Regions from separate parts of the Homo sapiens genome. Here all the other regions are linked to region 4. The links are contacts of gene promoters, found by promoter capture Hi-C in blood cells and fetal thymus (Javierre and others, 2016). All regions are on one chromosome and are shown on one strand. The core of a region is centred on a gene start or on the middle of the fragment in contact, and the rest is flanking DNA. Distances in the headings are between cores, read along the strand shown.

Region 1 (6,966 bases), core at 4,171-6,670, 290 kb after region 4:
CTCGGGATGAAGGCCAAGCTCCTTGTGTGGCTTTCAAGACCCACGGGACCTGGCTGCTGCCCACCTCGCTGGCCTGGTTTCCCATGACTCCCACTCCCTGAACCCCAACCTCTGTGTGTTCTCCTTCAGCCAACTGAAATCTCAGTTCCTCTGCTATTCTCCCTCCCCTTGGGGCCTTGGTACCCCTTGGCATGGAGGCTGCCTTCTCTGCTCTTATTCCTCCCTACCCTCCTTTATCCCATAGATAACTGCGAGACAGCCTGCAGGTGTGCCTCAACAGCACTTCCTCCTAGAAGCCTCTGCTGCCCCGCCCACTGGCTGTCACAGTTATGAGAATTGTTCATCTTCCTCCCTGGACCACCAGACTCCTGTCAGCTGGGATTCAGGCTGCTTGCTCACCATTGTGTCTCCACCATGCAGCACAATGCTTAACACATAGTAATGCTTTATATGTAAATATATGTAAATGCTTTATATGTAAATATATATATATACATTTTAAACTGGATAATGAATGTATGGTCAGACAGGCAGATGGGTGATGCAAGGAAGAGGTGCTATTTGGGTTGGGTCCTTAATGCTTTGGAATATCTTCGGGGAAGGTTGTTCAGGTGGAAGGGCAGGTGGGGCTGGATGCAGGAGTGTCAGATTGGAGGCACAGTGGGAGATAAAGGAGGATGCAGACGGATTACAAGGACCTTGAATGTCATAGTGCCGAGTCTGGACTTAATTCAGTAGGCAATGGGGAGCCATGGAAGGGTTTTAATCAAGCCAGTGACACGATCCCACCTGCGTTAGAGAACGATCGCTCTGGTTGCCGCAGGGGTTGCAGCGGGAGGGTATCAGAGGCTGGGAGACCAGGGAGGAGGCTGCCACAACAGGTTAGGCATGAACCAGTGAGGTCTGAGCTGGAGAAGGGATCGCGAGATGGATGAGAGGGGAGAAAAGGTAGAGATTAGGATGAAATGAATCTGTGGGACTCTAGAACATGTTCCCACACTGCCGGCTGCATGCAGGGACTCCACCTTCCTCAAGGCAAAGGAAGAAGGATCCTGAAGTCAGAGACGGATCCTGAAGTCAGAGACAGATCCTGGTGGTCCTAACTCAATTCCCCTCCTGCAGGGGTGCAGGCAGCTGAGATCATGTGCAAAACCAAACAAGGAGGAACTGCTGCATTTACCCCATGGGAACCAAGGAATATAAATGGAGGGATATGAGCAATAACAATACTGCTTTATGTATGGGGTGTCCTATGTGCCAGGCATTGTGCTCAGCACCATACATGCTCATGCACATTTGATCTTCACAACCCAATGAGACAGGTATTACATTTTCCTCCATTTCACAGAGGAAGAAACTAAGGCTCAGAGAGGTAAAGTAACTTGCCAGCAAGTCACAAACTCAGGCTGGTTGGACTCCAATGCCTACGCGCTTAATCATCTATTTATATTATGCACAGGAAAGAGCTGGTAACAAGTGGATGGCTGAAGGCTTGTGGGTCTGACGACAAAGCAAGAAGTTCCCAGCCTAATCCCAATGTGACAGCAGGAAGGAGCCTGCTGATGGGGCATGGAGGGAAATGTGGGGGAAGAAGGGAATTCCTCCAGGTTGCTGTACCTCATGTGTTTGAAATCAGACCCACATATTCGGAAAGGTGTGTGCCCATTGTAAGAGAGCTGAGCTAAGGAGTGAGTAGTGAATATATCCTTAACCCCCAGATGGGCCACCTTTGGAGTAATTAAAGAAAGGGATCCTTTTCTGGGGGTAAGCAGCCCCATAGGCCCATGGCTGGTAAGTATATGAAGCCTTTTTGCAAATTAGAGAAAGATGCCCCCTCCTCCAGGCAGGCACAGCCTGTCTTTGGGGCACCTGACTTGGAGAGTGGAGCTTAAAATAGATTTCAGTCCCCGCTCTCCTCCTGCATTAAATGCCCTTGGACAGTCAACAACCTGCCCAACTGCATATAACAGCCATGCCTCCAGCCTTCCTGTCCTGCACCTCTGTTTCCAAGCAGCCACTGTGTATCATCAACAATGAGAAAACGTCCCTCCTGCCAGATACACAGAGCTCAAATCACTCCACAGACAACTTTCTTGTTAGGCCTTGTCTCCTCCATGGGCGGAAAGACAGTCCTATCATGCCCACTGCCCTGATGAAAAGTTGAGGTCAGAGCCTGTCCTCGTGGTGAAATATCTAGGCTTTCTCTAGAGAGGCCAGAATCAAAACACAAGGTTGTAGGAAGGAGAGGCCTGAGTTGAGAGCTCCATCTTAAAGGTGCTTTGAGGAACCCGGGGTGGAGGGTGTGCCCACTCTTGCGGGGGGCATGAGGCTTTTCTCTCTGAGCCTGACCTGAGGCCTGGGTTTCCTCTCAGCCTGTTTCCCCACCTGGTCCCCAGCCCCTAGCACCCTTCCTGGCTCAGCTATGGGGAGGAATGAGGAAGTCCTTGGCCCCGGGGCCTCAGCCCAGACACCACCGTAGGGTCTTCTATTCCCTCACTCCCTCCCAGGCCATGCAGTGCCAGCTGCTACCCGTGTTATATAAACAGAAATCATTCACTCTCTCTCACTCTACCTGAGGCTGCATTTCAGATTGGAGCTTCCTGATGGAAGAAAAAGGGGAGGGGGAAGAACAGAGAGAGAGAGGAGAGGAAGTTTAATTGGCTGACTCTTATCGCCCATGTGGTAAATAAACTGGCTGCTCCGAACTTTGCCAACTCGGGAGGAGACGGGCCCTCCTGGGCTCCCTGCCTTAGCTATGGCCCGGCCCCCTGTCAGACAACTTCAGAATGCAGCGCTCCTGCAAAGCTCTCAGAAAGACCAGTGCCTGGGGAAGCAGCAGGGGCTTTGGGGGTTCCAACCTCTAGGTATGATTATTCCAGAGCACGACCAGAAACATCCAGAGATCACAGCCACCCTTTTGACAGAAAGGCTGTGACTCACCCGGAGGTCACAACACACTTTTAGGGGCCAAACTTTGTCCTCTGCTTCTGCTACTCGGCGTCTCTGCTAAAGGCATTCAACAGCTTTCCTCCGGCACTGGCCTGGGAGCACTGGGGGTCTAACTTGAACACCTCATGCTGAATTTAGAGCAAGTGTCTTCTTGTCCTGCCTGCAGCGTGAAGCCAAGAAACGGCTCTGTTTTGCCCCAGGCCTACCCAACACATAAGCAGCGTTGGTGAGGCCTGGATGTCAAGATGCCTGGGTTCCTATTCCGGCTCTGGGTATAGCTTACCATGTGACCTCGGGCTGCTGTTGCCAATCCTTGAAAATGGAAAAGAGGGCAGCCCAGGTGGTCTCCAATGTGCTGCTCACAGTTAGGAATAGGGAAAGGGGTTGTCTCCAGGGGTCCCCTGATGGGGCCACCCAAGAGGTACAGGTGCCCCTTAGCTGAGAGAGACCTGGCTGGCTTTATAAAGTACCTGCCCCCGAGGCACTGGCAGTGGTGGACCGGGAAGGGCACACAGACATCTCCAGGAAGCAGTGTTTAAATGTTGGCAATGCCCTTCCCTTCCAGGAGGAATGGAAGAGGAGTGTCCCAGACACTGGGACAAGGAGGGAAATAAGGGTGAAGTAGAGAAATGGCTGGGGCAGGGAACAGTTGAGTGCTACAGAAAAACTGAGGCAGACAGGATAGAAGATGGGTCGGGGTTGGGGGGGACGAGGAAATGGTCATTGGTGGGCAAAGACCAAAGGATGTCACTATGGGTGTAGAGGCCAAGTTTCAACAAGGGCTGTAGACTAGGGGCAACTGAGGGGGACGGAGTGGGCACTGATGGACACATATACGGGATACAAATGAAGGACAGAGAGTCGCGGTGGTTAGGGAGGAGCCTTTGGGCCCTAGGGCAGTGGTGATGCTGATATAGGGTATTGGCGCTGACCAGTGGGAGAAGAGGATGAGATCCTGAACCTGGGTGGAGAGGGAGAGAGAGCTGGCAACAGCCAAAGCCCTCAAATGAGCCGCTGCCTGTGCTGGGGGCACCTCGGCCAGCCCCAGAAACCTGGGGAGTGCTGGAATCAGCCCCACGGAAAAAGAAGCTGGCATGCGCAACCCTGGCGACGCCCGAAGGGTTTGGAGAGAAGAGGTTCCAAGGAGCGAGCACCTCGGAAGACCTGAGCAGCTTCAAACAGCAGCTTCTCTGCCCGCCACAAGGGGGTGCCCTGCACCTCGGGGAGACCTCGGGGGATCCTGGATCAGCCCTACCCTCTGCAGCCCCGCCTGGGACAGGGCCCGACGTTGCCAGAGAAGAGGCAGCGGGGAGGCGCGAGCGAGACGGGTCCACACTGTGCCCACCCAGGGCTGCCCGGCACCCCGCGCGCCCACGCAGTCCACTCTTCACAGTAAACGCCGCGGCCCCCGAGGGTTAGCCCTAAGTGGCGCTCTCTTTGGACGTTAGGCTGTCGGGGGCCCCGTCCTTCTTCCCCAGCGGGGACGGTGTCTCCGGAGTCGGGTCCTAAGGAAGAGAGCAGCGCTGGCTCTCGCTCACCGCCAGCCCGCCCGACGGCCATAGGGCAGGGGGGGTCGCGCCGGTGGGGCCGGCAGGGGTCCCTGTGGGCCGCCTCCCCGGCTCAGAGGGGACCAGAACCGTGCGTGTCGCCGCGGCTGGAGTCAGCCTCCGGGTGTCCCCGGACGCGGCACGACCTCGCACACACACACCGCGCGCACACGCTCGCGCCGTGCGGTATTTTCCCGGCCCCGGACCCCGCCTCTGGGAGGGGCCGGGGAGCCGAGCCCCGCTAGCAGGGTTGGGGGACCGGGAACGCCTGGGTCCCAGCCCTCGCGTCAGGGCTGTGCGCCACCTTCCCAGCCCCTTTTGGCGCGCCGGCTCGGCCCCTGGCGCTGCCACCCCTCGGCCCGCGGGGGTCCCGGAGGCTCCCGGGCGCGCGGCGGACGAGGTTGTGGGGACGGGTGGGAGCTGCGGGCTTCGGGCCGAGAGGCGGCTCGGCTCCGCGCCGGGGAAAGTTTGGACGTGGGAAACTCCCTCCCCGCCCTCCCGGCCGAGAGGAGGGGGCGCGCAGGGCCGGGCGCAGGCACCCCGGCTCCTCCTGCGGCTGGAGGCTCGCCCCCCGCGCCGCCTGCCCGGCCGCTCCCGCCGGCCAGGGGGCTCCCTCCCTGCCGGGCAGCCTCCCCTCGGCGGCGATCCGGCCGCTCCTCCCGCGGCACCCCGCGCTCTTACCTCGGGGAGCGGCCCGGGGCTCCCCCTAGTCCTGCCGCCTCGGGACGCTGCGTGGGGCGGGAGCCCCGGCGCGGGCAGCGGGCGAGTCCGGAGCCCCGCGGCCGCCCGCAGGAGCCGGAGGGAGAGCGGGAGCGAGAGGGGGAGCCGCGGCGGCGTGTGCGCGCGTGTGTGTGAGCGAGAGAGCGAGAGAGCGAGAGAGCGAGGGAGTGAGCGAGCGAGCGGGAGCGAGGGAGTGTGCGTGTCTGACTGGGGGGAAGTGTGCAAGGGACGGATCCCTTCCTTCCTCCCGCAGCCTCTGGTGGAGACTCGGAGAATGCAGGGCCCGCCGGGCAGGAGCCGCGCAGCGCCAAGCCGCAGGCGGCCGCCGGCCCGGACCCCCGCAGCCGGGGAACCCCAGCCCCCGCCCCCCGGATCGCGCCCCTCCTACACCAGGAGGGGACAGCCTTTCCCTCTCTCGGGCGGCCCAGTCCCAGGAAACCCCCCAGGGGACAGTGCCCCTCCCTCCTCCAACCCCAGATCCGCGCGAAGGGAGCGCCCCCAGGAGGGGGACCATCTACCTCCTCGCCTGGCAGCTCCCCAGGTGGCCGCAGTTTGAGACCAGAGCCTATTTCCCCACCTGATTTTACTGCGAATAGGGCTTCCCATTTCCGCCCCCTGACTACTGCGGGAGGCCGCCTTCAGAGGAGCAGGGGCGCAGGCCAGGGTAGGAGCAGGCTTCTCGAACAGTGGCCGCCCCGGCTTGCTGCCCAGAAAGGCACCTTGCACAGACCAGATCTGCCAGTTCAGAAACAGTCACTGTGCATTGAGGTGGACACCGACCAGGTGCCCAGGGCTGAGTCTCCAGGCAGGTGGGAGGTCGGGTGTCCCCGGGAGAGAAACTTGTGGGCTTTTCCTCTGGAGAGTCCCGCTGGACATCCTTGCAACCAACAAAGTAAGCAGGCAAAACAAGACACCTCCATCCTTAACTTGGTGCCACCTTGACCTGGAGAAGTCTCCCAATAAAATCTTCCCACTGCCCAGAAACTCCTTGCTGGTTGGGTTTTCCGTTCTTTTAAAAATCCGGCTGGTCTGCTCCCTGATGTTTTTTCCACCTGGCCCTGTTTCTTTCTCCTGGCTGCCTGGCTCTCCTTACTACTTCATCTCTCTGGGATGAGGCCTAATGGAGGAGACCCTCCCACCCCACTCCTGAGTTCCCAATATGAGGTCGTTGATGGTAGGATAGGACCAGTGACTCCCATAGACCCACCCTTTGTCTTGGGTTGTAGGTCCCCTTAGGAGTTGCCCGCCCCCCTATTCCCCATGGCTTCCAGATAGGTGAGTGAAGGATAACAGGAGACTGGACAGCTGCAGACCTCTGTCCCGCCAAGCTGCCAATGACCAGCCATTTAATCACCCACAAGCAGCTGCTGAAGTTCATGGCAAAGAGGGGGCAGGGCCCTCCAGGACCCCCAGCTCTACCTCGCCCCTATCCTTCTCTCCTCCTCGCCTCCTTCCCCAATTTCCATCTCCATCTCCACACCCTAGTCCGTCTTGCTGATGATTGGAATCACCTCTCCTGCTGGCTGCCCCTCTGGCCCCTCCTACTAAACTCCATCATTCATTTATTTATTTTGAGATGTATTCTCCACTGTGCCAGTCTGTTCCCTCCCCTACGTCCTTCTCTTGGTTTATTTCCCTTCATTGATCTCTTCCAGCCTTGCCTTTCTATCGCCTTCCTTTTCTCCATCTCTCTCTTCCCCTCTCCTCTCTATTCTTAGCCTCCACTCTTTCATGCTTTCAGAGACCAGAG
Region 2 (6,427 bases), core at 2,639-5,138, 270 kb after region 4:
GGGGCTCAGAGAGGGAAAGGGACATGCTCAAGCTGGATTTGAACCCAGCTGCCTGGCTCTTTCAGCTCTCCCACTCTGATGCTGGGCAGGGAGTCGAGGTCCAAATCTGACCACGCCTGGCCCTCAAGCCTTATTCCCCAGCATCCCCCGGGGTCTCAGTCTCACCCCATTAGCGCTGCTTTAAAAAGTGCGGACCGACCAGGGCGCGTTATTGCCCACATAAATCAGGCAGCTCCAAGTATGGAACACCTTTAAACAAACAGCTGATGGGAGTGAAGTTCCAGGATCATTATTAATAGCTTTTCATTTCAGTGGCCGCTGTGCTGTGACATGCCTTCCCAGCAGAAACCCTGCGCAGCCAGCCCCCGATCCGCCGATCCCCCGAGTCTACCAGTCAGAATGAATGACTGTACCTTTGTGTTAATTGTGGAGCCCAGCCACATGCAGAATGCTAATAGGGCTGAGTGAGAGGGGGTGGGTGCCAGCCTTGCCTGGTTGCTGGGCGGGGAAGGACCCCACCTCTGGTCTTCCTCCGTGGCAGCCAGCTGCTATATCTGTCTAACATCCTTATCTGAGCTCTGCCCTCCTCTGCTCTAGAAAGCCCTATGGCTCCTGTGGCCCAGACCCAATTCCAGACTCATCTGTCTGCCATTCAGGGTCCTTCATGTCTCTTCCTTTCTGTGGCTCCAGCCTCCTTTCTTGCATTCCAATACCATGGAGTCCTGTGCTGCTCAAACTCTTATTCATTTATTCATCCATTCAATCAATCATCCATTTATTCAATAAACATTTACTAAGCCCTCTGAGGGATAGAGGGGATGAAGCTGTGAACAAGACGGGCATGGTCCGTCATCCCATGGAATTTAATATCAAGCAGAAAAGACAGACGTTAGGTCTGTGTCAGTTTAGCTCTTTATCATCTGTGTAACCTTGCATGAATAACCTCTTCTGGGCCTCAGTTTCCTCCTCTGTAGAATGGGAATAATAACAGTAGCTACCTCACACGGTGGTGTCAGGACTTAAATAGCTAAAAAGATATGTGAATCACTCAATATTCCTCTGATCATTTACTATGGAGTAAGAAGTACTCCGTAAGTGTTAGCTGTTATTATCATTATTAACTCACGACTTCATTAAAACATGCGATGATGACTATAAAAGAAAGGTACAAGGAGAGCATCTGACAGGGAGCTCGGACTAGTCTGGGGCTCTTGGGAAGGGGTCCCTGAGAAAGTGATTTGTTCTCAGACTGGAGTGTGGGGGTGGCGAGGGCGAGGGCAGCCAGGTGGAGGGAACAGCCTGGGTAGAGGCCCTGAGGCTGGATGGATTTTGCCAAGCTGAGAACCTGAAAGGCAGCGGGGAGGTTGGCACGTCAGGAGCAATGGGGAAGAAGGCCGAGATGAGACAGGAGAAGCAGGCAGGAGGCCACACCGTGCAGGATCTCGTGGGCCTTGTTAAATTTTAGATTTCATTCTAAGAGCAATGGGAAGCTATTGAAAGCTTCCGAAGCAGAGGATTGGCATGAATCTTATTCTGTTTGGAACTCACCCAGGCTACTGTGGGTGTGAAGCAGACTGGCCCCCGCCCCTTCACCTGCTGGGGTCCCCCATCAGGTGGCTGAGAATGAAACACGGACATGGGAGAGGAGGATGTTGTCCAGGTGAACAATAATGGTGGCTTGAAGTAGGTGGGGGCAGTGAGGTTGGAGAGGAGTGGGCTATTTCTAGAGACATACGGAAGGCAGAATCCTCGGGATATAGTAGGAATGCTACGGGGAGCTGCAAGATGAGGACCTGTTCGGTAAGACCTTGAGGTGGCCCCATTCACAGATTTGGGGAAGAGAGGGAAGTAGCAAGTTTGGAGGATAAGGAACCATTTATGTAGCTTAACATTCCCCAATGTGTGGAGGCCTGTGAGCCCTTGCATGTACTGTTCCAGGGAGAATGTCCTTCCCCAATCTTGTCTGATGGGGGATTTTGTATGAATCACTCAAAGCCAGGCTCCAATATCCCCTCCAATATATGAATCCCTCCCTGGTACCCCAGATTTGGTCTCTCTCCCCTATGTGTCCACACCTCTCCCAGCACCCTGTACCTCATAGAGCTCTTGGCTCCTTCAGTTTCCTCTGCTGTTTCCATCTCATTTCCCTCCAAGTTTTCGAAGGCCCCAGAGGGTAGTCCCTGGGCCACTCCTCCTCAGATGACCACATGTAACCCCGCAGCTTGAAACCCCATGGATTTGCTGATGACACCCAAATATGTGTGTCCAACTCAGATGTCTGCCCAAAACCCAACACATAGAGCCTCTTGCCTGTTCAGTGCAGATATCTAAAACGCCCTTCAAAACCCTCATGTCTGAACCCGGACTCCTGAGTCCTACCCCCAACCACACACAAATAATGAGAACATAAATTCAAAAACTGCTCCTCTTCCAGCATTCCCCAGTTCGGTAACTGGCAACTCCATGCTTCCAGCTGCTTCCGCCAAAAGCCTTGAAGTCAGTCTTGACTTCACACCCCACATCCAATCCATCAGCAAATCTTGCCAGCTCTACCTTAAAATAGATCCAGAATCTGGCCGATCTTGCCACCTTCATTGTTAGCAGCCTGGTCCGGCCACCATCATCTCTCACCTGGATGATTGCAACAGCCTCCTAACTGGTATCCCTGCTTCTGCCCTGGCCCCCTGCAGACTGTTCTCAGTTATGGTGTTAAAACATAAATCAGGCCGTAACACTCCTTCTCTCAAAATTCTTTTGGCTTCTTGTCTTACTCGGAGTAAAATGGCTCATAAGATCCAACAAGAATTGGCTTCTTGTTACTTCTCTGACCTTTTCCTACTCCCCTCTCCCTCTATTTCAGCCACACTGGCCCTCTGGCTCTTCTCTGAATAGACCAGGTATGATCCCACCTTTGGGCCTTTGCACTTGCTGGTCCTCTTGCCTGGAACACCCTCGCCCCTGATGTCTGCCTGGCTCACTCTCTCCCTTCCTTCGAGGGTCTGCTCAAATGGCTGACCCCATGCACCTTTCCCTTACAACCTGTGATAAACTAGCTCCTCAGTTCCCCAGGCCATTCATATCCCCTCATCCTGCTTTCTTCACCTTCTCCATAACACTTATCACTATCTGATATATTATAAATGGATGCCTCCTTTCTCTATAATGTGAGTGCCATGATTTTAGGGGTGTTGTCTTTTTTGCTTGATGCTGTATTCCCAGCATTTAGAACAGCGCATGGCACATAATAGGTGCTCAGTGGATATTTCTTGAATGACTCGCATAGTTTTTATCTATCTGTCTTCCTGTTTGTCTGCTTGTCTGTCTCCCCCAGCAGACAGCGGGAAGCCACTGGATCCGATTCTCCACTGCTTTCCTGGTGTCCAACACAGAGTCTGCAGAGTGGGTGCTCATCAAATGTTTGAATAAACAAATGAATAATAATAGAATTTCCAGATGGATTGCCTGGGGCGATATGAGGGAGGGATTATGGCTAGACAGAGCTGCCTACTGGAAATTTTCCTGCCATTTCTGAAGGACCTGGGGTCACCTGGGAGGGGAGGAAGCTAGAAACATGAGCCAAGGAATCTCTAGAGGCCAGAAGGGATAGAGATTAAAATTTAGGAGCTGGTGATGGAAGGATCTGGAAGTGCAGGTTTCCAACTTGGCTTCATGTTTGAGGCTAACCTGTGGATTTAGAATTCTGTTGGAAGTTCAGGAAACTAAAGTTTTAGAACAGGCCAAGAGTTTAGGGTTAGGGTCTGAATTAAGGTTTGGAGTTTGGAAAACAGGTTGAAGCTTTGGATTTAAAGTTAATATTCAGAATTCTAGTTAGAGCTGAGTGTTTGGGAGCTGGGCCTAATGTTTGTGGTCAACTGGTTTTGAGAATGGGTCAAGAAATGAAAACTTTGGTGAGAAAACTGTACAAAGTTGAAGGTGGCATCAACTTGAGGGGCTCAACTTGAGGATATTTATTAGATTTTCAAAGCTTCTTTGCCAGGACACTATGAGACAGAAGCTCACAATATATAGTCAAGTTCTTGAACAGTTTTTCTCCACCAGGGGCAATTTTGCCACCCAGGGGACATTTAGCAATGACTAGAGATGTTTCTGGTTGTCACAACTGGGTGGGAGGGTGCTGCTGGCATCTAGTGGGTAGAGGCCAGGAATGCTGCTAAACATTCTACAATGCCCGGGACAGCCCTCCACGACAAAGAATTATCCAGCCCCAAATGTCAATAGAGCTGAGGTTGAGAAACCCAGCACTGGAGGATTTATTCATTCTCTGAAGGGTTAGCCAAGGCTAATCCAAGTGGGCCAGGAGTCAGGATATGAGTGTTTAGGGGGAGGGCTAGTGCGATGCGGGCCTGAGCTATAGAGTCAGGTGTGGGCACCCTTGTGTCCCCCTCCTCCTGGATGGAGCTGCTGACAGCTAACTCTGGCTCTGGCAGACTCTAAGGGAGAGGAAGGGGGTTAGGGTGGAGATGGGGAGGGAGAAGGAGGAGAGGGCCAGCCCAATGTGTCAGGGAATTCACGAAGCTAGAGACAAGCAGGGTGGGAGCTGGTGAAAGAGAGAGAGAGAGTAATAGTTTTGCAGAGTTGCAGAGAGCCCAAGCAGGGTCTATGGGGGGTGTGTTTGGAAGGAAGGCTGGGGGTGTGGCATGGATAGTCAGAGAGCTGCAGAGAGAGTTGGCATCTGGAGGGCCTGGTGTCCAATGCACCCTCTGCAACTTATGTGACTGCCTTGTTCAAGACAGAATTCAAATAATAACAGCTGGCTGGGCATGGTGGCTCACTCCTGTAATCCCAGCACTGTGGGAAGAGAGGCAGGTGGATCACCTGAGGTCAGGAGTTCGAGACCAGCCTGGCCAACATGGCGAAACCCTGTCTCTACTAAAAATACAAAAATTAGCTGGATGTGGTGGCATGTGCCTGTAATCCCAGCTACTCAGGAGGCTGAGGTAGGGGAATCACTTGAACCTGGGAGGCAGAGGTTGCAGTGAGCAGAGATCGCGCCACTGCACTCCAGCCTGGGAGACAGAGCGAGATTCCATCTCAAAAATAAATAAATAAATAAATAAAACAAAAAACAAACAAAACCAAATAATAATAGCTAACACTTGCATCGCACTTACTCTGTGTCGCTCTAAATGCTTTACATCTGTTAACTCATTTTTAATCCTCCATTGAGCCTGTGTGATGGGTACTACCATAATCCCCGTTTTACAGATTGGAAATGGAGGCAAAGGGGTCAGGTAAGTTGCATAAGATCCCATAGCCCTGAGCGGCCCTGCTGGCTCCAGAGCTGGCTCCAGGCTTCTGTTTTCCATTTGCTTCCTCTGCCGTCGACATTCATGATCTCATCACACCCTCTCAATAGTCTCCCGAGATAGGTGCTCTTGTTACGGCCCCTGCTGCACTGATGAAGTAACCAAGGCACAGAGAGGTGAACGACCTCTCAACACAGCCAGGTCTGCCTGACAGCAAGGCCACTTCTGCTCCTCTGCGTTGCAGCCTGGGGTGCACCTCTGCACAGCCCCATGTGCCCACTCTTGTGGCCATATCTGATCTTCACAAATGGCCTCAGACTTCAGGGTTTCTCAGCCTCAGCAGCAGTGACATTTTGGCTGGATAACCCTTTGTTGGTGGGGGCTGTCCTGTGCAGGGTAGGATGGCTGGCCGTATTCTTGGCCTCTACCCATTGAATACCAGTAGCACTCTTTATTCCCAGTTGTGACAACCAAAATTGTCCTCTAGACAATGCCAAATGTTCCCTGGAGGCCAAAATCAACTGCTCTCCCACCCCAATGGAGAATGACTGCTCCAGACAGTAGGCAAAGGAGGATCCTCCTATGACATAGTGGATCATGGAAGAAAGGACCAGAGAGGGTCACACCTTACCCAAGGTCACTCAGAGAGTTGGTGGTAGGACTTAGGTCTCTCCAGCCAACAGGAAGGCATGCCTGCTGAGCTTTCCCACTGGAGGCTCCCTCCCCCAGGGTGAGTGTTGAGTGCCAACGATATGGCAGGAGCTGGCTGCCTGTCCCAATAAATGCAAAGGTCCCATGAGCAGCCCGTCCTTTTCAGAGCCCTCTGCTCTCCAGCTGAGCTGAGGTGGGGTTCGCTCTGCTCCTAGCTGTGGCACTAGGAAAACAGCTGTGGCTTTGATGTCAAACAGACCAGATTTCAAATCCTAGCTCTGCCACACCCATACTGTGGGACTCCAGGCACAGCACTGAACATCTCTCACCCTCTGTTTCCCCATCTGAAAAATGGGCAGTTTGGATTAGAGAATCGCAAACGCCCAACTAACTCTGATGTTCTGATTTTCTGACAAATTAGGGTATCCGGTGTCTTAGTCCTGGCTGTGCCTGCAACTCAAAGTGGCATCTTGGGCAAGTCACTGCCCCTCTCCAGAACCCACTCTCCT
Region 3 (6,416 bases), core at 2,643-5,142, 310 kb after region 4:
GAAGTGGATCCCACAACAGGCTTGTGGCTCTGGCATTCGGCCACTTTTCTCTGTCATCGTAACTGTAAATAAGGCATCTGGGAGTCCTCCCAGCACTTTAACAGATTTAACAAGCAGTAGCATGCGACCCGCAGTCCAAATGGATTTTTTAATAATGAATAAGCATTTATTTAACAAGTAATAACAGTTTTACCACCCTCCGGATCCTCGGAAGTCCAGAGGTCTTGCATTAACGCCTTACACAGGCATCTTCTGCTGCTATCTTTTGTCCATTTTTCTGGTTGTTTTTCTCTTATTGATTGGCAAAAGCTCTTTGTATATTAAGGGTATTAACCCTTTACCTGTGATATGCAAATATTTTAAGTCTGTATAATTATTAAGTTTTCCTTAGGGCATATAGAAGTTTAAATGTTTTATGTTGCAAGGTGTTTTTTTGTTTGTTTGTTTTTTGTTTTAATTTAGAGACTTCTGAGTTTTCAGAATTGCTTGTGAGCCTGAGGAAACCTGTGGCTCTGTTGCAGAAATCCTCAGCTGAGTTCAAACACAAGAGCCCTGGCCATGGAGTACAACTGTGGGTGAATGCCTCTCTTGAGACCTCGGTGGCCTCCATATAATAATGTGTTGAAATAGACAACCTCTCAGCTGCCCCCTGCAGGAATGTCCCATGATTGTAAGATGGGATTTTGCAGGGAAGAGGCTGCAGTGCACTCTGAGAGAGGTCCCAGCCATACAGTCTTTCACAGGTCTATCTCCCCCACCACTTCCAGCCCCTTTGAGAACAGGAACTGCGTCTTTTCATTGCGCTGTCCTTAGCACCTTGCAGAAGGCTGCCTGCCTCATAGTATGCCCTCAGGAGAAATTTACCCATCTGCACTGCTGATTGTACCTGGAAGTGAGCCCTGGCTCCATTTCATGCCCCTGTCTAGAGGTGGTAGAATGGAGTGGATAAGACAGTGTGCTCCCTGGGTTTGGATATTGACTTTTGTTTGCTGGCTGTGTGGCCTTGGGTAAGTCGCTTCACCTCTCTGAGCATGTTTCTTCATCTGTAAAACTGGGGCAAGTCCTCCCAGAGCTGTCTGGCAGCATGAATGAAAAACTGATCTAGCAGCCAAAACACATGATTCCTGCCATGTCGTGGGCAATCAATACACGTCAGGCCTCTTGTATCTCCACTGCTGAGTGGAGTGCATTCCATCTTGAGATGCTAAAAAATCTTCAGTGTTCCCACAGTTTGGGTTCCAGAGTAGACCCTGAGAAATGGATTCAAGGGCAAGTAATTTATTTGGGAAATGATCCCAGGAAGCACCAGTAGGACAGTGGGAAAGTGATACAGGAAAGGCAGGCAACCAATACCGGGTGCTTTATCAAGCCTGTTACTACTGTGGGCAACTGGAGCTCAACTCTGCTGGGGAATTCTGGGAGGGAGAATAGGACTCACATCACAGAGCAATCCACTCCCATTCCCCAGCAAAGGGTGAGGGAGGAGCTGGGGTACTTATACTCTGGCTTCAAATAGTCATCAGTTAAGAGCTGGACATTAATTTCCTGACTCTTTCAGTCTGCCCACTGGGAAGCAAAGTGGCTCTGGAGGCCTGAGAAAGGAACTCAACCAGGCATGCCCTGAAAGGCTAAAGATGAGGTCCTGACACCTTTTTGGAAGGGCAGGTGAAGCAGACATCTCAAGTAGGATGGCCCCAAAAGATTTAAAGGTAGGATTCGGTGGCAGAAGGGGAGTTAATGGGGCCTGATTCTTTGTTGCTCTCCACTCTGATTGCCACCTGAAATTGATAGCTGGTACCAAAGGGCAGTAGTGTCACCTTTCAATAAGATGAAATCTATGTCTCCAGCGGATGGAGACGACAGGAAGATTTATCAAGGCCCTGGCAAAATTAACATTTGGACGGGGGACACGGCAAGAACAGCCTCCAGAGGGGGTCTCTTTGCATTTATTCTGGCTGGTTCCTGCCAGCGGCTGGACTGGAAAGAGCTGCAGGGGTCAGCCATCCAGCTGGCCTCTCAGGGAGGGACGCCTGGACAGACAGATGCAGACACCCAGGGCAAAAGGAGACTGGAAGGAGAACTGTCATCTTTGCTGAGCAGGGAGGCCACCAGGGCACTTGGAGCTGAGTCCTTGCCCTGCCACTCACTTGTTGAAACCCTTTGCCTCAGTTTCCCCATTTGAAAGACAAGGGTATTGTGCTCAATGCTTCTAGCTCTGGCAATCTCTGAGACCATGACACAGAACAAAGCTCTGCCCGGGTGCTATCCCAGCAGTCTTGGGAGGTGAGCATGAATACATCCACAGAATGATGGCTAGCCTGGGTTGAGTACCTATTACGTGTCAGGCACTGTGATAAGTGCTTTACTTGTACTTCCTGTAATACTTACAATAGCCCCATAAGGTAGGCACGGTGGTTTCTGCATTTTGCCTTTGAGCTCAGAGAAGCCAAGTGACTCACCCAGGACTACACAGTGAGTTTGGGGCCAGGTAGACATCGAAACCCAGGTCTACCGGTTCCCAGTGCAGGGCTCCTTCCACTGTAGTCATCCTGGGTTCCAGTTCCAGGCCCTCTGATACTGAACTTCCAAAGGAGTCTCAACTTCTCTCTTGCACAGGAGGATGTATCCAGAGCTCAGGTTCTGGATCAAGATAAACCTGGGTTTGAATCTCAGCTCAATCAGGTCCTTGCCGTGTGGCCTGGCCTGAAACATTCCACGGGAGCCTCTGTTTCTTTGTAAAATGGGCATTGGAGCCATGTCTATCATGAAGATGACATGAGGCAACATGCGTAAAGGGCCGGTCTCTAGGGTCACTGGGAAACAGGCTTCCATGTACGGCCTCCTCCCCTCTCCATTATTCCACTGTGGACTTGCAGAGCTGTGTGGTTTGCATCTGGGGCACATGTGGGAATTAATTTGTGCTAAGGAGGTGAGGTCCTCCCTCCAGGTGAGCAGTGTGGGACAAGGGACCCCAGCAGGCCTGGAGGATGCTGGGACAGAGGCCTCCGCTCAGAGAAGGAGAAAGGCAGGGCCGATGGAGGAAAGGCAGGTGTTGGGAGCAAGTTCCCCTGCCCCACCTCAGACACTTGCACTGAATGCGCCCTCTGAAGCCCCAGCCTTCTACCCTGGAAACACCCTGGGCCCTGGGGTGGAGGAGAAGGAAGGGAGCCCTTGGTGGGAGCTACAGAAAATTAAAGCTAAAAATATGTCTGGGTCAGACCTCAGTTTCCCCATCGGTGAAATGGGTGCAGGCAGTAACACCCCCACCTTAGGCCTATTTGAGCGTAACGGGGTTTTTAAAGTTGGGATTCTAGGCCCCTCACAAACCTGAAAGACATTCACTGTGGGTGCTGTCTGGACTCTGAGCAACTTACTTAACCCCTCCATGCCTCAGTTTACTCGTCTGTGCAATGAACGTAATCATACTTAATGCACTGGGCTGTTGTTAGGATGAGGGGGTGAGGAGTGCTGTCCTGAATAGCACTAAGAACAGTGTCTATGTCTAGGAAATGCTATGCAAATCATGGTTGTTGTTTTTATTACTAATATTATTAATATCATTATCATCATCTCAGGTGAGGGAATGCGGGGCCCGGAGAGGGGCAGAGGCTTGGGAAGGCCACATGATGGTCAGGACTGTAGCCTAGGAGTCTGGCCTTGGACCACAGCCTCAGCCCAAGTCCTCAAACATCCCCTCCCCCATCAAGGCTGCCACATCCCCCTCCCTCACCAGGGAGTGAGAGGAGGCCCAAATCCAATTAGCCTGGGAGCCAACTGCAGAGCATCGCCCCTTTAATATCGCAGGAGAAGCTGCAGAGATAAATGAGAAATTAGAATTCCGCTGGGGTCCCTGAGACCCGCCTGCCGGCCCGCCCTGGGCTGGGGCTGCGGCAATTCTCCTAGGGACCCAAGGAGCTGTCTGAGCCCCAGTGGAGGAGGTGCCCCTGAGGGGCCCTGGGCCAGTGCCTGAGTTTCTCCTTAGGCCTGCCAGCCGCTCCTACTCCCAGCCTCCCATTGCCCACCCACCTTCCCCGCTGCCGCCATCCCACTCCCCTCCCCGTCAACCATAGAATTCACCTTTCCTCTCGAGAGACCCATTCCTCTCCTCCTTCCACAGCCCCTCCCTCCCAGTATCCGAGGGCATCAGGGCAAGGTCTAACCCCATTCTTGGCACGCCCCCGCTTCCCCTTCCCACTCCCCTCCTCTCAGTCCTAACAAAACCCAGGATCCTTCCCTCCTTGGGCTAGGACTGACTCTGCAGCTGAGGCCTCTCTTGGGCCTGGGGGATTCTGGGGAGGACATCACTAGTCCCCCTCAAGGAAGAGGAGGTTCAGGGTCTGTAACAGGAGCTCCTCCTGAGCGTTCCAGAGTAGGTGTGCAAATGAGGCATCTGCAGCCCCCTCCTCTAGAGGGTAATGGGCTGTCATACAAAGCCGGCAGGTCACCACCACAGCCCTGCTGTGGCCTTCCATAGCTCCCTGTCTTGCACAAGACTCAGTTTCCCCTTATGTACAATGGAGAGGGGCTGACATAGGTGCAGGCCTAAGATCTTGGCTTGGACACTTGGCCCAACCCTGGGAAGCAGGCAGGCCCCCCTATCATCAACCCAGCCCACCCACCTGCCTCCCTCCCTCGGGGGACATATTTGCTGCTGGGAAAGTTAATCCATTACAGTTTAAAGGCTCCGTTCCTCGCTGGCAGTAAATTACCTGCTTTGCATTTTGCAGCAACAACTTAACGGTATTAATTTATTGTGCTCTGTCTTTAACAAACATCATTATCATATTGCCAGCCAGGATTATGCAAATGGGAGGGACAAGGGAGAAAGAGGCTGAATCTTGTCCCCAAAGTCACCTTGATTTATTAACTTTGGGGCCCTGCAATTGGCCAGGTCTGGGAGGTGCAGGTGAGTGCAGAGGCCAGGAGAACCCACAAAGTCTGGGCAGAGAGAGTCCTGAGGCCAGAGGGGGACTCCCAGGGGAGGGCACCCTTGGAGGGAAGGGCTGGCTGGGGCTTAGAGGGATTCCCTTGTCAGGTGACTTTGGACAAGTCCATTCTGTCTTGGGCTTCGGTTTCCCCACCTGTAAATGGAGGTTGAATTAAGAGGTCCCTGGAGCTCATAACATATGAACTTGAGATTCAGCAATACATTGTGAATGAGTGAGAGAGAGAGAGAGAGAGTTTATGTGTTTGGGCAGGGTGGGCTGAGTAGAGAAGAAGCCACGTGGTCCTGGGGCTGCAGTGCCCCCATGCCGGGCTCCCTGGCTGCTGCGGCTCCTGAGCACCAGGCTAGTCATGGATGGGCACATGGTGGGAGATGGGTGAGCTGGGGCTGAGAAGAGAGGGGTCTAAGGGAAGGGGCTACTTCTGGGCTGAGAGTCTAAAGGCTGACGGCAGGGGTCAGTTCATGAGAGGGTCTGAGACTTTTAGGCTATACACCAAGATGCTGGGTTGGGAAGGGGAGGCAGGACCATGCCAGGCTGGGAGGCAGCACCCTTTAGCTCCTGATTTTGCATCTGGCCTGGGGGCTGGGCTGGCTGGAGGTCTACTCATGGGGTCCTAGGCCTCCGCACAGCCTCCGGCAGCTCCTCCTGAGCCTCCTGGACTCTGAGTTTACCCCGAGAGACTCTAGGTTGGGCTGCCAGGGGAGCTGGAGGCAGGTGGGCTGGGCCCCCCCTCTGCCCCTCCCTGTGCGCCTCCTCCCTTGGGCTGGCTGTGGTGAGAACCCGCCTGATTACACAGCTGGCTGCCCCCGGCCACTGGGCCTGCTCCCCACCACCTGCAGACTGGCTCTGCCAGGAACTCACTGGGACTACATCCAAGCACCCGTGGGCGCCAGCCCAGGGTTCTGCCCTGGCCATCAGGGTCCTTCCCGGGCCCTGCAGAGGCGCCAAGGTGGGAGCTGGAGAGGGGCCAACAGAGAGGAGATGACACCAACCTGGCTGGCCAAAGCTCTGGCCTGGCGGGTGTGGGGTGGTGGGGAATTCCACGGGGAGGGTGGCACCCCCTGTCTACTGAATTCCTGAGTGGCCCCCTCTGTGGCCCCATCCCTGCCCTGCCTTTGGCATTTTGCCAAACCTGCCCTTGCCTCCTGGTGCCCCAATCTCTGCCTCAGTCTCTGAGCACCCCCACTGCCCCCTCTACTTGCTCTGTCCTGCATCGCTGTCTCTGGGTCTCTCCCTGTCATGGGGGATGGGGCTAGGGAGGGAGCAGGAAGCAGAGGGAAGAGGTATTGAGGGGGCATGGAGTGGGGGAGCAATTCAATTTCCAGAGTTGGCCCTGGCAATACCGGTTGTGTCGTGATAAGAAAGCCATTTCCCGTGATGGCTCCTAATCCACACCCTCCTGCCTTTGCATGCAGCAGCTCCCTTCATCTGCCTGTGGCCAGAGGCTGGAAGGGATCCCTGTCCACTATG
Region 4 (6,379 bases), core at 3,184-5,683:
AAAACTGGCAATAACCTAGCTGCCCAGGAGTAAGTCAGTGGATAAATAAAATATGGATCATATACCTGACGTTAGTAGCTATCCACGGTACAGCACTATGTGCCAGGCACTGTTCTATGTGCATTTTGTGTGACAAAACAACCAGAGGAGATAGGTACTCCTATTACTTTGTATGTACTATTATTACTGCCATCACCAATCCCTTGTTTTACAGATAAGGAAACTAAGGCACAGAGAGTTATACAACTCACCCAAAGTCTCATAGCTAGTGAGTGATAAGAGTGGGATTTGAATGTGGGTTCTTGGTGCAAGTGCACGAAGAGAAAAAGAAGAGAAAAAGCAGTGGGTGTCTGGAGAACTTCAAATGGCTCAGAACTCCAGCATGGGGTAGTAGCAGGTGGCTAAGAGGGAATGGAGAGGATTCCAGAATGGTTAAGATAGCAGTGCTAGTTTGGGCTAGATGAGAGAAGTCCTGAATGCCAAGCTGAATATGAATTTGACCTTACAGGTTAGCAAAGGGACTTGACTGAAAGATTGGGGCCCGTGAGTGGAGATGATGGGTTTGATCAGGGCCCACGTGGGAATTTAAGTAGGAGTCCAGAAAACTGCCCTCCTGAGCTTCCTCTTTCATCTGTTTCTTGCTCAAATGACCCACTCCCACTTGGCGTACAAACATTCCCCGCCATGGCTTGTTTACAATCTGTCTTAACCCCTGCCTCCCACTAGATACTAGTCTATTTCTCTACCTTCCTATCCCTATTCACAATAAAACTTCCCAAAAGCATGGTCTCTACTCACTGTCTCCACTTCCTCAATTCCCATTCTCTCCTCAGCCATTTCCAGCCTGGCTCCCACCCCACTACACCACCAAAGTCACCCTCTTCAAAGCCATTTATGACCTTCTTGTAGCCAGATGTGACAGGAGCTCCTCTCTGCTCATCCCACACCAACTCTCCCCACATTGACACAGTGGATCCTGCCCTTCTTCCTGAAACTCTCGGCCTCTGGAACCTTACTTCTGGGTCTCCTCCTACCTCACTGGGTGGATTTTCCTCTTCTGGTGACAGAGGCACCCTTGTGCTCAATCGTGGGAATCCTCTGCTCTGTGTATACTCATTCCCTGTGATGTCTGGTAGCCCACAGCCTTAAATAGCATCTCTCTGCTAAAGACCGTGAAATTTATGTTTCCTACCATAACCTCCTCTCCCCTGCCCCGAGCTCCAGACTCATGTTCAACTGCCTACTCTACATGGCTCCTTAGCTGGCAAACAGACCTCTCAACCTAACGGGTCCAAACTGACTCCTGGGTTTCACCTTCCAAACGTGCTCCTCTGTTGTTACCACTTTAATAAGAGACAGCATCATCCACCCTCAATCAAACTGAACACCTAATCAGTCCTAAAATCTAGGAATCAGTTATTTAAACTTCTTTTCTAGTACTGGGTTTCTCAGCCTCTACACTATTGACATTTTGGGCTGGATACTTTGTTGTGGGGGATTGTCTTACACTGTACATCTACACTGTACCTTCTAGCATGTTTGGTGTCTTCCTCTAGGAGGTGACAGGATCCACGGCCAGATGCCAGGCCCATTCAGGGTCAGCCCTCTCTGCTAAGGAAGGCCCCAGTGTGGGGATGGGGTGCAGCAGGGTAATGTTGAACTGTGACTCATGGCCAGGCAGCCCTGGTACAAACCTAGAGGGCCCAAGAGGCCTTTAGCCCCTAGATGCTGGTACTAGCCCCTGCTCCAGTTGTGATAACCAAAAATGTCTCTGAATATTGCCAAACATTCCCTGGTGGTCAACATTGCTCCCAGTTGAGAACCATTGCCATAATATAATAAATATACAAATGTATCTATCATAAGTGTACATTTGAAGACATTTTCACAAATGGAACACAAGTGTGTAACCAGCACCAGGTCAAGAAACAAGAGGCTGGGCATGGTGGCTCATGCCTATAATCCCAGCACTTTGGAAGGCCAAGGCAGGTGGATCATCTGAGATCAGGAGTTCAAAACCAGCCTGGCCAACATGGTGAATAACTCTCTCCACTAAAAATACAAAAATTAGCTGGGCACGGTCGTGGGTACCTTGTAATCCCAGCTACTTGGGAGGCTGAGGTAGGAGAATTTCTTGAACTGGGAGGTGGAGGTTGCAGTGAGCCAAGATCATGACACTGTACTCTGGCCTGGGCGACAGAGTGAGATTCTGTCTCAAGAGACAAAAAAAAAAAAAAAAAAAAAGAAAGAAACAAAACATTATCAGCACCCTAGAAGCCTGCTTGCAATCACTACCTCTTCTCCCCAAGGGGTACCACTATCATTACTTTTTTTTTTTTCTGTCACCCAGGCTGGAGTGCAGTCGCATGATCTCTGCTCACTGCAACCTCCGCCTCCCAGGTTCAAGCAATTCTCTGCCTCAGTCTCCCAAATACCTAGGATTACAGGCACCCACCACTACACATGGTTAATTTTTGTATTTTTAGTAGAGATGGGGTTTCACCATCTTGGCCAGGCTGGTCTTGAACTCGTGACCTCATGATCCACCAGCCTTGGCCTCCCAAAGTGCTGGGATTACAGGTGTGAGCCACCGCGCCCAGTGCCACTATCATTACTTCTAACAGCTTAGATAGACTTTGACTATTTTTTACTGTATTTAAATAGTGTTATAGGGTATGTATTCTTTTGTGTCTGGACTCTTTTTTATCAAGGTTCTATTTGTGAGATTCATCCATATTGTTCTGAGAATTGTAGATGGTATTCCATTGTGTGAAGGTACTACGACTTATTTCTCTATTTTACTGTTGACAAGCATTTGGTAGATTCCAATTTGGGGCTATTATGAACAATGCCCCTATGAACATTCATGGTAAATGTCTTTTGGTGATCACAAGTAGTCATTTCTTTCGGGTATATACCTAGGAGAAAAACTGCTGGGTTGAAGGATATGTGTACGTTCACCTTCAGTAGATGTTTCCAAATAGTTTCCCAAAGTAGTTTTTGCCTAACTACACTCCCACCAGCAGTGTGTGAATTGCCAGGATTTCTCCTTGACTTCACTCTTATGGTCACGTGTCACATCCGATCCATCAGTGGGTCCTGATGGTTTCACTTTCAAAACCTAACTGGAATCAGACAACTGCCACCACTCTAGTCTGGCTGTCATCACCCCCCAGCTTGGGGTCTGCAGGAGCCTCCTAATTAGATTTCCAGCTTCTACTCTTGCCATTCTTTAGTTGAACCTTCGCCCAGCAGCCAGAATGATCCTGTTAAATTATAAATTGGATCACATCATTCCCCTGCTCAAAAAATCCAGGATCCTCCCCAAAGCCTTCAGAAGACCACATGATCTGCCCTTCTCTCCTCCCTCATCTCCAGTCACTCTCTTCTCCACTCACTCTCTTCCAGACACAATGGCCTTGCTGTTTCTTGGACAGTCGGGACTCCTTCTCACTCCAAGGCTCTGCATTTGCTGTTTCTTCTTCTAGAGAACTCTTCCCCCTAGATCTTTGCATAGCTGGCCCTTCTCATCAGTGAGGTCTCAGCTCAAATACCACATCTTCTAGGAGGCCTTCTCAGGCCACCCCTAAAGTAGTCCTCCCTCTTACCCATTATCCCATGGCCCTAGTTTTAAACATACATCCAATCTCAAATGATCTCATCTATGCATTTGCTCACTTATAATCTTTTTCTCCTTATTAGAATTTAAGCCACTTGAGGGCAAGAAGCCAGTGGATCTCATCCACCGACGTATCCCTCGCACCATTGACCGAAACACAGGAGCGCTATCGACATGTGCCGAATGAATGAATGAATGAATGAATGAGCCCCAGGTGTTTAGGAGACCCTAACAGAGGTGCCCCCGTTGTAGGGACGACTCTCACCTGCAGATGGCCTCCTCAGGCCCTTCGGGTGGCACTGGGGAGCCCAGGGCCTCCCAGCGAAGTGGCCAGATTCAGGAACCCTTCGCACAGCGGGCACTAGGACCCTGCGCGGCGCCGCGTCTCGCGGGGGGCGGGCGGGCGGAGGGGGTTGGGGGATCCGCTCTTTCTCCCTCCTAGAGCCTGGTTGCAGCCACTTGTGCGATCCCGGACCTTGCCGCGGCCGCCTGGCTCCTTTCCGCGCCATGAGCCGCAGGTTCACGGTCACCTCGCTGCCCCCCGCAGGGCCCGCCAGAAGCCCTGACCCAGAGTCCCGCCGGCATTCGGTCGCAGACCCCCGCCACCTCCCGGGGGAAGACGTCAAAGGTAGAGGCCGCAGGGGGCGGGGCCTGCCAGGGCCGGGCGGGACGAGGGGGAGGGGCCGGGGCGGACCGTCTGTTGAAGGGGGCAGGGCCAAGACCGGGGGCGGGGAGGGGTCCCAGCCCTAGGCCTGAGAGGGGAATGGAGCCAGGACTAGGAAACCAAGGGGCCGGGGCCGCGGAACGCAAAGTGTGGAGGGGGAGGGGCCAAACGCGAGGTGGGCGTGGCCACGAGGGAAAGGGGTGGGGCCAGGGAAGGGGTTTGGACGGAGGCGAAGGGGGCGGGTCTGGTGATGGAAAGGCCGGGGTCAAGGTGGAGAGTAGGCCGTAGGGCACTAAAGGGGCGGGGACATCTCGAGTAGGGAGCGGGACCAGAGTGAGGAGGTGGAACTAGGGAAAAAGGGGGCTGTGTGTTGAAGGGGGATGGTCAGGAGCCCCTAAAGGGGAGGCGGCGGGACTAGGTTGGTTTGGGGTCAGGAAAGGGCGGGACTAGTAGGGAATGAGTTGGGCCAGGAGGATGGGAGTGGGGCCTGGGAGGGGGGTGGGGTCGAGGGCGGGAGGAAAACTGAGTCAGGGTTGCCGAGGCAGGTGCCAGGTCAGCGGGTCCTCGGTGCCTGGCGGATCCTCCAATCCTCTAGCTCCCTGGAGGCTTAGCGGACAGCGACTGGGGATCCCGGGAAGGAGACGGGAGGCAGGGAAGTTAGTATGGATCCTGGGCAGCGAGATTCAGGGAGGATGCCGTAGGGTCGCTGATCCCGACTCTTGGGGACCCACTTAGCTCCTTGTCTGCTCGAGCTCCGTAAGGGTTGGGAGGAGCCAGCTCAGGCGGGGTTGGGGGCGTCTTCCTCGCGGGCCCTGTGCAGGGTCTTGTAATGGAAGTTACACGCAGGGCACAGAGTATAGGGGAGGGGAAAGATCCTTCTGGCCTTCGGTGGAGAAGTAGCATCCTGGGCGCGTGCACAGTCTCCCCTCAGGGGGCACTCATCAGGGGTCCTCTCCCTGGCTCTGAGGCCCTCGGGTCTGGAAGGAACAAGGCGAATCGGCTTGTAGTGGCCCCAGCGAGGGGAGGAGGAGGAGGAGGAGGAGGAGGAGGAGGAAGAGGAGGAGGAGGAAGAGGAGGAGGAAGAGGAGGAGGAGGAGAAGGAGGAGGAGAAGCCTCCCCAGACCGCCAGGGGTCGCTGCCGAGCCGCAGGTGAGCTCGCCCCGAAGCAAACCCAAGCGCCGAAACCCCTAGAGTAACCCTTAGGGGGTTATCTGGCGGACCTCCTCATTGTACAGATGACCAAATTGAGGCCTGGAATTCCGAATGGCCCCAGTCCCGGGAACCGAACGCCTCCTGGTTGTGGCCACTTGGATTTCTTGGGCTCCTTCCACTCTTCATCTTTCTCATAATCTCTTTTCTCATTTTCATGAATGACCTTACCAGCCTCCCAGATTTGAAAGTAAGAAATTCTGGAGCCATTCTCAACCCTTCCTTTTTTCTTTCCAGCAAATCCAACTGATCCCCACGTCTTGGCCATTCACCTCTGAAACTTATCCTGAATCTGGCAGCATCGGTCCCCCCTCTGTCATCATCGCCCTGCTCCAAGCCTCACATGGCCACGACCACATCCTCTCCACTGGCCTCCCTGCCTCCAGTCCTTCCCTAGCCCTCCTCCACAGAAGCCCCCCATCACTTGCAAAATAAAGGCCAAAGCCTTAAGTCTGTCATTCTCTTTCCTCATTTGCTTCTGGTGTTCTTGTCCACATTCATTCTCCCACCTCCATCAGCCAGGAAAACTCCTATTCGTTCTGTAAGTTATAGCTCATTTAACCTTTTCCAAAAACCTTTTCAGTTTCCTCTTCGGCCCACCCACTGCACCCTTAGTGCACATGTCCCGGTGGATGGCAGTCGTTTTCTTTACTTATGGGTATCCTCCATTGGAACATCTCAAGGACAGGGACCATCTCCTTTATCTTTGTGTTCTGAGTTCCAGACCCAGAGCCTGGCACTTAGTAGGTGTGTAATGCTCATAAGATGAGAGGAGGGTGGCTGTGGGATCCTGCTTCTCTACCCTTGCCTTCTCTTCTCTCGCTCCTCATCCCCTGGCTTAGGAATAAGACGGCCCTCTCTCATGTCCCAAGGTGATTGCTGTTTTC

The links. Contacts are between HindIII fragments. The CHiCAGO score rates a contact against its expected background, and 5 or more counts as called.
Region 1: a contact is called between the fragment with the promoter of CDH22 here and the fragment with the promoter of SLC12A5-AS1 in region 4, in 14 of 17 cell types (M2 macrophages, activated CD4 T cells, endothelial precursors and 11 more). The highest score is 10.5, in M2 macrophages.
Region 2: a contact is called between a fragment that was not itself captured here and the fragment with the promoter of SLC12A5-AS1 in region 4, in 2 of 17 cell types (megakaryocytes and M2 macrophages). The highest score is 7.4, in megakaryocytes.
Region 3: a contact is called between a fragment that was not itself captured here and the fragment with the promoter of SLC12A5-AS1 in region 4, in 2 of 17 cell types (endothelial precursors and M2 macrophages). The highest score is 6.3, in endothelial precursors.

Annotation. Positions count from the first base shown.
Region 1 is chr20:46,303,078-46,310,043 of GRCh38, forward strand. It overlaps CDH22 (cadherin 22), which reads right to left and starts at 5,421. Exons shown (of 12, transcript NM_021248.3): 1 at 5,178-5,421. RefSeq lists a silencer at 312-530. The HindIII fragment of the contact is 22,305 bases long and covers 1-6,966 here.
Region 2 is chr20:46,286,223-46,292,649 of GRCh38, forward strand. The region is part of intron 1 of CDH22 (cadherin 22); the gene reads right to left. Among named protein-coding and RNA genes, the nearest start is that of CDH22, 19 kb to the right of the region's middle. The HindIII fragment of the contact is 190 bases long and covers 3,794-3,983 here.
Region 3 is chr20:46,324,509-46,330,924 of GRCh38, forward strand. No RefSeq gene overlaps it. Among named protein-coding and RNA genes, the nearest start is that of CDH22, 19 kb to the left of the region's middle. The HindIII fragment of the contact is 8,908 bases long and covers 1-6,416 here.
Region 4 is chr20:46,017,640-46,024,018 of GRCh38, forward strand. SLC12A5-AS1 (SLC12A5 and MMP9 antisense RNA 1) reads right to left here and starts at 4,434. Exons shown (of 3, transcript NR_147699.1): 1 at 3,885-4,434; 2 at 2,092-2,209. It also overlaps a transcript of SLC12A5 not described here. RefSeq lists silencers at 3,945-4,104, 4,125-4,484. The HindIII fragment of the contact is 8,792 bases long and covers 1-6,379 here.